2 separate regions of the Homo sapiens genome follow, and region 1 is linked to region 2. The links are contacts of gene promoters, found by promoter capture Hi-C in blood cells and fetal thymus (Javierre and others, 2016). All regions are on one chromosome and are shown on one strand. Each heading gives the region's core, a stretch centred on a gene start or on the middle of the fragment in contact. The rest is flanking DNA. Distances are from core to core; before and after follow the strand shown.

The links. Contacts are between HindIII fragments. The CHiCAGO score rates a contact against its expected background, and 5 or more counts as called.
Region 1: a fragment that was not itself captured here is called in contact with the fragment with the promoter of ANOS1 in region 2 in 5 of 17 cell types (naive B cells, total B cells, non-activated CD4 T cells and 2 more); the score reaches 10.0 in naive B cells.

What each region holds. Positions count from the first base shown.
Region 1 is chrX:9,733,925-9,739,140 of GRCh38, forward strand. The region is part of intron 8 of GPR143 (G protein-coupled receptor 143); the gene reads right to left. It overlaps LOC105373126 (a long non-coding RNA gene), which reads left to right and starts at 3,176. Exons shown (of 2, transcript XR_950507.2): 1 at 3,176-4,795. The HindIII fragment of the contact is 5,511 bases long and covers 1-4,651 here.
Region 2 is chrX:8,730,783-8,735,545 of GRCh38, forward strand. It overlaps ANOS1 (anosmin 1), which reads right to left and starts at 1,355. Exons shown (of 14, transcript NM_000216.4): 1 at 1,048-1,355. The coding sequence starts at 1,254. The HindIII fragment of the contact is 4,315 bases long and covers 1-3,298 here.

The sequences.
Region 1 (5,216 bases), core at 646-3,145, 1.0 Mb after region 2:
CAAAAATTAGCTGGGCGTAGTGGTGGGTGCCTATAATCCCAGCTACTCAGGAGGCTGAGGCAGGAGAATCATTTGAACCCAGGAGGCAGAGGTTGTGGTGAGCTTAGATCGCGCCATTGCACTCCAGTCTGGGCAACAACAGCGAAACTCTGTCTCAAAAAAAAAAAAAAAAAGAAGAAGAATAAAATAGATTATAGAAGAAAACAGATTTTCAAGAAAAAATAGAATGGAGAATTGTGGGAGAAAACAATTGTTAGGAGAATGTTATTGTGAGAGAAATAGGGAATTATGAGAGAAAAAAGAATTGTGGGAGAGACAGGGGACTGTGGGGAAGAATGCCAAATTATGGGAGAGCCATGGAACTCTGGGAGAAATACAGAATCGGGGAAAATACAGGGTATTGTGGGAGATACACGGAATTGTGGGAGAGACAGAGAATTATGGGAGAAACAGAATTGTGGAGAGTAGAGAGGATTGATGGTCAAACCAAGAATGGCGGGGTGGGTGTCATATGGAATTGGGGGAGATAAAAGGCATTGTGGGAGATACAGCTACGCTCCTTTCTGGCCATGTTTCTGGGCTCTGAATGGGCCTCACCCCACCTGTGTGGGAACACAGCCCCTCTGTTCTATCCTAACCACGACCCCTCCACTCCCAACAAGCCCTAAGCCTCAGCCTCACCGGCCTGGGCTTCTCCCCGGGATGATCCTTAAATCTTGCAAGTTTGTGTACTAGCACACTCGTCTTCCAGGAAAGATCTATACTCCTGCTCCCATCAGAAATGCCCTGCTCTTAGTAGCCACATCCCTCCTGCCAGACTCTGCCCCTTCGCTCTCACCAGGCCCTACCCCAAAACACAGCCCCGGCCAGGCTCTATAAGCTCCACCCAGTCCCCACCCCTCCTGCCAGGCCATGCCCCCCTGGCTCGCTCCCTGGAGGGAAACCGGGAGGTACCAAGGGGCTGGGTCTCCTGAGAGCCAGCGCAGGCCCGGGAGTTGGGTGCCTGCACATCTAGGGAGTCAAAAGCGGTTCAGGTGCACAATCCTCCCCTAGTAATGACTCTCTTCAGGATTGTCCCAGATCCCAACACCTCGACTTGATGAGCAGAGAGTGTTCAGCAAGGAGGCACAATGGTGACGGGGCGTGGAACCGAGCTCCATCCAGCGGCTCTCCGCCTCCCTAAGCGGAGACACAGATCCCCTCAATGGAAACTGCTGCCACAATCACAAAACGCGATGCATTACGTGTTTTCTTCCACGCCCATGCACTGGGCTGGTCCTACAAGCAAATTGCAGTGTCTCTCCACTTAAAAACCTTAACTGGCCTTTCGCTGGCCACCGGATAAAGCCCAAACGCCCTAGCAGAATCTTTATAAACCCTTCACCACTTCTCCAGCTTCCCCCAACGCCTCCATACCACGCTGAGCCACAACCGTCCCCAAACAAGACGCAGACTTTCTATGCTAACTCTCAACACCGCGTCTTCCTCATCTAGATTTTCTGTCTCCTCTTTGCCTATGCTGTTCTATCATCTAAGACCCAGCCCGCACATCACCTTCTCCAGGAACTCTCACCAGTGTTCCAAAACCAACTTAGTCCTGCATTGCCTGTGTTCCTTTAACCCTTCACAGGTTTAAAAAAAAAAACAGTATTGTCCTTACTTACTTGGGAGTTTCACAAATTATACTTCTCAGGAACACTCACCCATCCCGGCTAAAATGGTGTTGAATATTTGCTTAAGACAAAATTCAGTTAACTTGTGTGAAGTACCTAGTAAGTTCCAGACACCATATCAGATACTTAATAAAGCTCCATGCCAGCCTATTGGTCTTGTAGTGAAACCCGAAGCAGTAGGGTCTGAAGGGTATGATGAACAAGTTGAGCTTTATATCCACTGTCTACATAGGGAGAAGCCCATGGCTAAGTTTTTTCTGTATCTGCCATCGTAGTAATCAGGTGCAGCCAATAGGAAAGCAGCCCTGGTAAGGGGTTTTCCTTGACTTTACGCACAGAAGTAGTATCCGATGCACACTTAACTTACCCAAATTCACCTCTACTTAGTGAGGGGCTGGGGAGGTATGGCAGGGAGAGTAGGTGAGGATTTACATAGTCCCAGGGATCCTGCTGCCTGCAAGCTGGTAAAGCTCTGGTAGGAAAATCGGAATGACACCTGCGTTTCCCCCGCCACTGACAGAAGGGAAGCACATTCTGGGGTGACAGGCAAGTGGCCCCAGAGACATACCGACCAGGAAAGATTTAGAAGGGATCCTAAAATTGTCCCCAAACAATACAATGGTGATGAGAGCCAAAAGTCCGATGTGGAAATATTAAAAAATGTGAGGTGTCCTAGGCAGCAAATTAATTTCTGAATAAAAGCCTTTTCAATTCTTTTTAGATTAATGTATGCAAATTCCTGCATAGGGTTACCATACAAAATGGTGATGACTGCATGTTATGGGCAATTTTAAGATATTCAAAGGGTGACTAGATGTAAACTTATGACCCTAACCACCACCTCAGTAGCACCGCCACTTTATACTTTTTTTTAAAGAGATGGGGTCTCACTATGTTGCCCAGTCTGGACTCCAACTCCTGGCCTCAAACGATCCTCCTTCCTCAGCCTCCTGAGTAGCTGGGGATACAGGTTCATACTACCAGGCCAGGCCACTTTATACTTTTGCAGATGTTTGTTGTTAATTCTGAAAACTCACTCTATGCTTCAAGCTCTATCCTCAAAAACCCTGACAGATGTTACCTAATAATATGTCACTTGGAGTTCTAAATTGGCAGCTGCCATTTTTACAGGAATTCTTCCCACAATAAAAAAATACCGATTGTATTTCTCATTTTTCTCAAAAGGCTTTCCTTTTGTTCTTTCCTTTTCCTCCAGTGTTTTCTCCAATTGGTATTTCCATTGAGTGTTCTATTGTTAGAATAGAATGATTTTTTAAAATATTTTAATTTTCTCCAATAGACTGTGAGATCCTTGAGGGCCAGGTTTACACATCTCCAGTATCTCCACCCCACTCAGCTCCTAGTACACAGCCTGGTAGAGTTTGGGGCAGTCATAAGTAGTTATTAACAGAATAAGAGTGGGCCAGGTGCAGTGGCTCAGGCCTATAATCCTAGCACTTTGGGAGGCCAAGGTGGGAGGATCATTTACAAGAGTTTAAGACCAATCTGGGCAACATAGGGAGACCCCAGCTCTATAAAATAAATTTTAAAAACACACACACAAAACCAAAGAAAATTAGCAGGGTGTGTTGGCACCTGCTTGTTGTCCTAGCTACTCAGGAGGCTGAGGTGGAAAGATAGCTTGAGCCCAGGAGATCAAGGCTGCAGTGAGCCATGTTCATTCCACTGCACTTCAGCCTGGACAACAGAGTGAGACCCTGTCTCAAAAATAAATAAATAAAACAAAGAATAGGTGTATCCATACAACGAAATATTATCAATCCATAAAAAGAATGAAGTTCTGACACCTGCTACAACATGGGCGAATCTAGAAAACACTATCCGAAGTACAAGAAACCAGACACAACAGGACGAATATTACACAATGCCCTTTCCATGTAAGGTCTGGAACAGCAAAGCCATAGAGACAGAAAGGAGATTCATGGTTGCCAGGGGCTGGGGAGAAGAGAAGGGAAATGACTCCCTGGGGGCACAGGGTTTCTTTCTGCAACGATGAACATGTTCTGACTTAGATAGTGGTGACGTGTGCACAACCACTGAAATGTGCCATTTAAAGGGGTGACCTTTATGGTACGTTAATTATATCTGAAATTTTTTAAAAAGCCAAGGGACCAGGTGCAGTGGCTCAAGCCTATTATCCCAGCACTTTGGGAGGCCGATGCAGGAGGACCACTTGAGACTAGCCTGGGCAACATAATGGGACCTCGTGTCTCCAAACACTAAAAAATAAAATAAACTAGGCATGGTGGTGTGCACCTGTAGTCCCAGCTACTCAGGAGACTCAGGTGGGAGGATTGCTTGAGCCCAGAAGGTGGAGGCTGCAGTGAGACGTGTTCCTTCCGCTACACTCTAGCCTGGATGACAGAGGGAGACCCTGTCTCAAAAAACAAAAACAGGGAGCCCTCACAGAGAGCAGCCTCCAGGGATGGCTGCCCTGCTTATTTTTCTATTGGATCTGTATTTGCTTTTTCTAAAACCTCTATGTGAAAACATCCAACCTTTGAGCAGAAGATCTATGCAACAGCTTGCCGGAGGGAGTGGAAGTAAGGAAATGCTGATGGATTTTGTTTGGTGGTGGTGATTGGGGTGGGGTGCAGGGGACTTTTACTGTTATTTCTAGTGTTTTATTTGACTGTCAAATATCTGCTCAGCCACTTTAAAACAGCAGGATGGGAATGCAAAGCCAAATAATTCAAGATAACATTTTTTGCTTCATTCCCTAGATGGTATCAGTAACTCTACAGACTAACAGCAGTTCCAGCTGGTGGGTCCCTCATGCTTCGTGAACTATTTGTACCAGACGGAAAGTCTGTAAATAAATCTTCTCTCTGTGTCTTTTAGCTTCAGCCAGAACTATCTCTTTCTCTTCATGGCTCCCAATTTCAACCAGACAGTACGGTATCATGGAATCAATTCATCAGTTCATCACCATATTTTTTGGTCTTCAAAGTAAACCAAGCTTGTCACCTGAAAGTGAAACTTCCTTCAATGTATTTGTTTGTTTTTGTTTTTGTTTTGTTTTTTAGACGGGGCTTCACTCTTGTTGCCCCAGCTGGAGTGCAATGGCGCGATCTCAGCTGACTGCAACCTCCTCCTCCCAGGTACAAGTGATTCTCCTGCCTCAGCCTCCCAAGTAGCTGTGATTACAGGTGTGTGCCTCCATGCCGGCTAATTTTGTATTTTTCGTAGCGACGGGTTTTCACCATGTTGGTCAGGCTGGTCTCGAATTCCTGACCTCAGGTGATCCGCCCACCTTGGCCTCCCAAACCTGCTGGCATTACAGGCATGAGCCTCCACACCCAGCTATTTTTGTATTTTTAGTAGAGATGGAGTTTCACCATGTTGGTCAAGCTCGTCTCTAACTCCTGACCTCAAGTGATCCACCTGCCTTGGCCTCCCTTCAGTGTATTTGAATAGTAGGAATGGAAAAGAAAACGGAACTCCTTAAGCCATTTCCAAACATCTTTCTGCATATTATTTTTCTTACTCCAAATTTCAACATTATTTTGGTACACCCCATCA
Region 2 (4,763 bases), core at 105-2,604:
GAAGGAGAGAAGGATGAGAGAAGAGAAAAATAAGCGGAGGATTTCAGAGCTCGCACGCTCGACAGGGCTGGTACAGGCAGCAGCTGCACTCGCTCGCGCTGAGTCCGGAACCTGCTCTCGTGCGCCCACCCGCACCCGGAGCCTCGCGCAAGTCCCGCGGGGGTCCGCGCCACAGGGCAGAGTCCCGGCAACCCGCTGGAGCCAAGCGCGCGGCTCCCGGAGCCTCCCACACAAGCGCGCGCGCACACACACATACTCCCCACCCTCAGGCTGAAAGAACCTACGTTCGGGGTTTGGGGGACGGTTCCCCCGGGACTCGTTGAGGAGTATCCGAATACGGCCCCGCCAAATCCCCTGTCCCCGGCACTTCTTCCCTGACGCTCTACGCTAGTCCAGGGCAAGACCTTGAATCTTTGGGGTTCCGAATTGAGGCGCGCACAGCCACTCGCACCCCCAACACGCGCATACACGCACCCTGGAACACGACTTGGCACAAGTACCCTGGCTGGGGCTCCAAGGGTGGGCAGCGAGCTCTGAGCCCTCAGAGAGTGAAAACCATCTTTCAAAAGAGACAAAGTGTCGGCCCGCGGGCACCTGCGGGGCTGGGGCTCGAGGTGAGGTCCCCAGGCGCAGCCGGACGCGCCTCCCAGACTCCCTCCCAGTGCCCCGGAGCGCCTGGGACTTTGCGGGAGTCGCCGCCCGCCCGGAGTCTCGCGCACTCCAATTCCCGGGAAACCGCCACATCCACACACCCACTCCCAGCATCCACGACTCTCCCTCCCCAGGGAAATCGCCTTTGGTTTCCTGCTGGGAAGGAGGGAGTTGGGGCAAGATGTCTCGGGCTTCTTTTTCTTTTCAGGAGCCGGGAAGAGGCTGGAAAGGAGAGTTCCAGCACCCCGACTGTAAGATCCACGCCCAGGGGAAGCCAGGATCAGCCGGCGGCGCTGGCCGAGAACTTTGCGAGCCCAGGCTGGGAGGCGCGCGCCCCGGTGCGCCCACGCCGCGGCCGCAGCCCCAGAAAGAACCCGGGCGGGGGCCTCCCCGTACCTGGAAGTGCTGGAAGAAGGCGGAGATGCGAGTGATCTGCAGGCTCAGGCACCTGGAGGCGCAGCGAGCGCGCTGGACGCTCCCGGCAGACAGCGACTCGTCCAGCCGCCGCGCAGCAGCCGCGCCGGGGCCGGCCGCCAGGCAGCCGCTGGAGGCCGCCAGCCAGAGGCAGAGGGTCAGGACCGCGCCGGGCACCCCGGGCACCATGGCTGCGGGTCGAGGGCGAGGGCGAGGGCGCCGGGCGCGGGCCGAGGCTCCCTGCTCCGCGCCGGGGCTGCACTGCTGAGGACCAGGCAGACGCCGCGACTGAGCCGGAAAGTTCAATCCTTCAACTCCGGCCGGACCCTCCTCGCCGACCTCCCTCCCAGCTCGCCCTCGAGGGGTGGGGTGAGGGGGACAGGAGGCCGCACCATTGGCTGGAAGGCGTGTGAGTGACAGGGGGGCCGGGCGCAGGGCCCATGGGCCGGTCTCGTCAGCTGCGAGCCCGGGCGCTCCGGGGGAGGGCGACGCCGAGCGGCTTTCCACGCCGCGCAGGTCTCGAGGGGCCCAGCTCCCACGCAGGCGCCTCTCCCGTTCGCACCAACCGCTTCCTGCCCCTCCCACCTTCCCCCTCCGTCCAGGTAAACGTCGGTGTGAGCAGGTCCAGGCCTGCCAGGAGGGGTGCTCCCTTCAGCAGGAGGGAAGAGGCCTCAGGACCCCCAGGGGCGTCCCACCTGCCTGGGGATTGACCCCGCGCCCCTAAGTGGCTTGCTTTCTCCCCGACCTCCCCTGGGTCCAGGCTTTTCCCACGCTTTCACATATTCGAATTTCCTTTGCCCAGGTAGTGGAAAGAAGTGAAGAAAACAAATGGCAGTAAGACAGACGGGGAGGGGAGCGTGGACATTTGCCCTACAGTGTCCCGGAGACAAATTCCTCCTTCTCTCCCTCTTGCATTTCTTCCGTCCTTCCCGCATCCCTCCCTCCCTCCCTCCCGCACTGTTTTCCCTGGAGACAGTCTCAGTGCATAGCTAACCACCTTTAGGTCCACACGCCTTGTTTCCTCAGGTGTCTGTTTTTCTAGTAAGCCTTGCACGCCCCAAAGTGAGTGATTTATTCTAAATAGACTTGCGTCTTAATCTCTTTCTTTCCCCACGATTTGCCCGAGCCTCTTGACTCAGGCTTTTTAGCTTTGGAATGGCTGCTCCGTCCTCTCCTGTCGTTTTTGTCTAGTGTTCTCTCAGCACACAAATTCTCCCTCCCCAGCCAGGATCCTGCCACAGAAAGACAGGAGGCATTGATAAGACACAACTTGTAACAAAGCTCTACACTCCCCTGAGCCCCATCAGGAAGTGACAGTCCCCTTGCAGGTAGGAGAGCCCAGAGAAAAAAGACCCAGGCACACTCCTATTCGAATGGACAACAACTGACTGCTGTTCCTTTGCTCTGACATCTCCACCCTCTCCTACCCAATTGCACTTTCACCTTCGAAAACGGGATCTCTATAAGCACCCAGCTAAGCACAGTCAGGGTATCTAGATGCACTCGCTCTACTCAAAGCTACATCAGAAGGCTGGAATCCTCTTTGCACAAAGCCTATATAGTTGTTTTGCAATTTCCCACCCTTTTCCCTATTCTTATACACAGGTTCCACTCTGCAATTTTGAGATCTGCCTGTTAACAAATTGCAATGACAGCCATCTGCAGCTATCCTATTATGAGTGCTTTTCAAATACATCATCTTACATGTGTATTTCTTCACATAGCTTAAATCAGAAAGGCCAGTCAAATTAATTGGCCTTGGTGTGTTTCTCAGCGAATTAGAAAATCAGGGTCATCTTGTTCAAAAGGTTCTATAGGCAAAGCCAGTTTCATGGACATGCAAGCTGTACAATGGTACAGTCGCACTCTTAGAAGGCCTGTTCTGCCATCACCATCCTGAAACTCTTCACAATGACAGTGGCCTGTTAGGAACTGGGCCGCGGCAGGCCAGGGAACATTACTGCCTGAGCTGTGCCTCAGGTGAGAAATCAGTGGCAGCATTAGATTCTGATAGGAGCTTCAGTCCTATAGTGAACTATGCATGCGAGATGTCTAGGTAGCGCACTCCTTATGAGAATCTAATGTCGATCTGAGATGGAGCAGTTTCATCCCCAAGCCATCACTTGCTACCCCCAGGTCCATGGAAAAATTGTCTTCCATGAAACCAGTCCCTGGTGCCAAAAAGGTTGGGGCCACTCTTTACTTGGGCTGGAAACCTAGTAATTTTGGCATAAGCTTACACGACTTCAATGATTTGTTTTAAAATTGCTCAGAATTGCAAATGGAAATATTTTTTAAGTATGTTAAACATAATATTAACGAAGAGTAAAGAAGCTAACTATAATGACCCCAAGCAGGCATGTGTATAAAGCCAAGTGTCAATAAATAATGATGTCTGAATACCGAGATTGTCTTCTAAATGTTGTCACTTTCATTTGTGAATTACTAAAAACATTTCCAAAAGCTGTAGGGGATCCTTTCCTAGTGTTTGTTTGGAGTTGTTTTGTTTTGTTTTGAGACGGAGTCTCACTGTCACCCAGACTGGAGTGCAGTGGTGCAATCTCGGCTCACTGCAACCTCCGCCTCCCGGGTTCACGCCATTCTCCTGCCTCAGCCTCCCGAGTTGCTGGGACTACAGGCGCCCGCCACCACGCCCAACTAATTTTTTGTATTTTTAGTGGAGACGGGGTTTCACCGTGTTAGCCAGGATGGTCTCGATCTCCTGACCTCGTGATCTGCCTGCCTCAGCCTCCCAAAGTGCTGGGATTACAGGCGTGGGCCACCGTGCCTGGCCTGTTTGGAATTTTAAAGTTAAGCAAATATGTGGTCTTGGTGAAGGCAAAGATATTATGTACACCGACATTTTCTTAGGTAACTTTGATTTATAATTTTGCATGTCATATCATGAAATGCATATTCCAGAAAGTGAAATCACAAGGACAAGCATGCTGAGCTTTTAAAAACAGCCTTTGGATGTTCACAGGGGTTGCCGTTTTTTTTTTTTTTTAAAAAGCAGTGTGTGTGCTACTTATATGGGTTCCATAGCATATTCATTTCTATGAATAAATGCGTTTTGTAATAAACCACAAAGGAGAACAGTCAGTTTAACAGAAAACTTGGTTTTAAACATATAGAGCCACCTTATTATAAATATGTTAAAATAATATTTGCAGTTATATTGCTTTCTTCCTTTAGAATAATCACAGACATCCTCTGTGATTACGCAGGCCTTTCTCATATTATTTACTTTAATTGCAGCTTAAAGTAACTTTTAAAAGGAAAGCATTCTAGTAAAGTCAGAATAACAGTCAAATTTCGGTGTTTTTTTGTTTTGTTTTGTTTTCATTCTGCCCATGTATGCCCAACTTATTATGCAGCTCACCTTGCAAACTGAAACATGGAAGTTCTCTGACTTTTGACATTACCAGGTAAGCCACAATCTAAGTTCATGAAAGCCAACCACAGGGGAGGAGAACCCTAAGAGTATGCTGAGGAAATGATGGATAAAGGGGTAGGACCCTCGGGTGCAGCTAGTAAGACGGTACTTAGTATGTCTTTCTCCAAATCTCCTTGACCCCCATGATCCGAATTTGTCTAGAGAAGAATTTAACTTCACATTGACTTTGGTTTGACTTAAATAGACAAACACACATTTAACAAAGAGAGTAGAAAAGCACCTTAATTATCTCTTATTTATA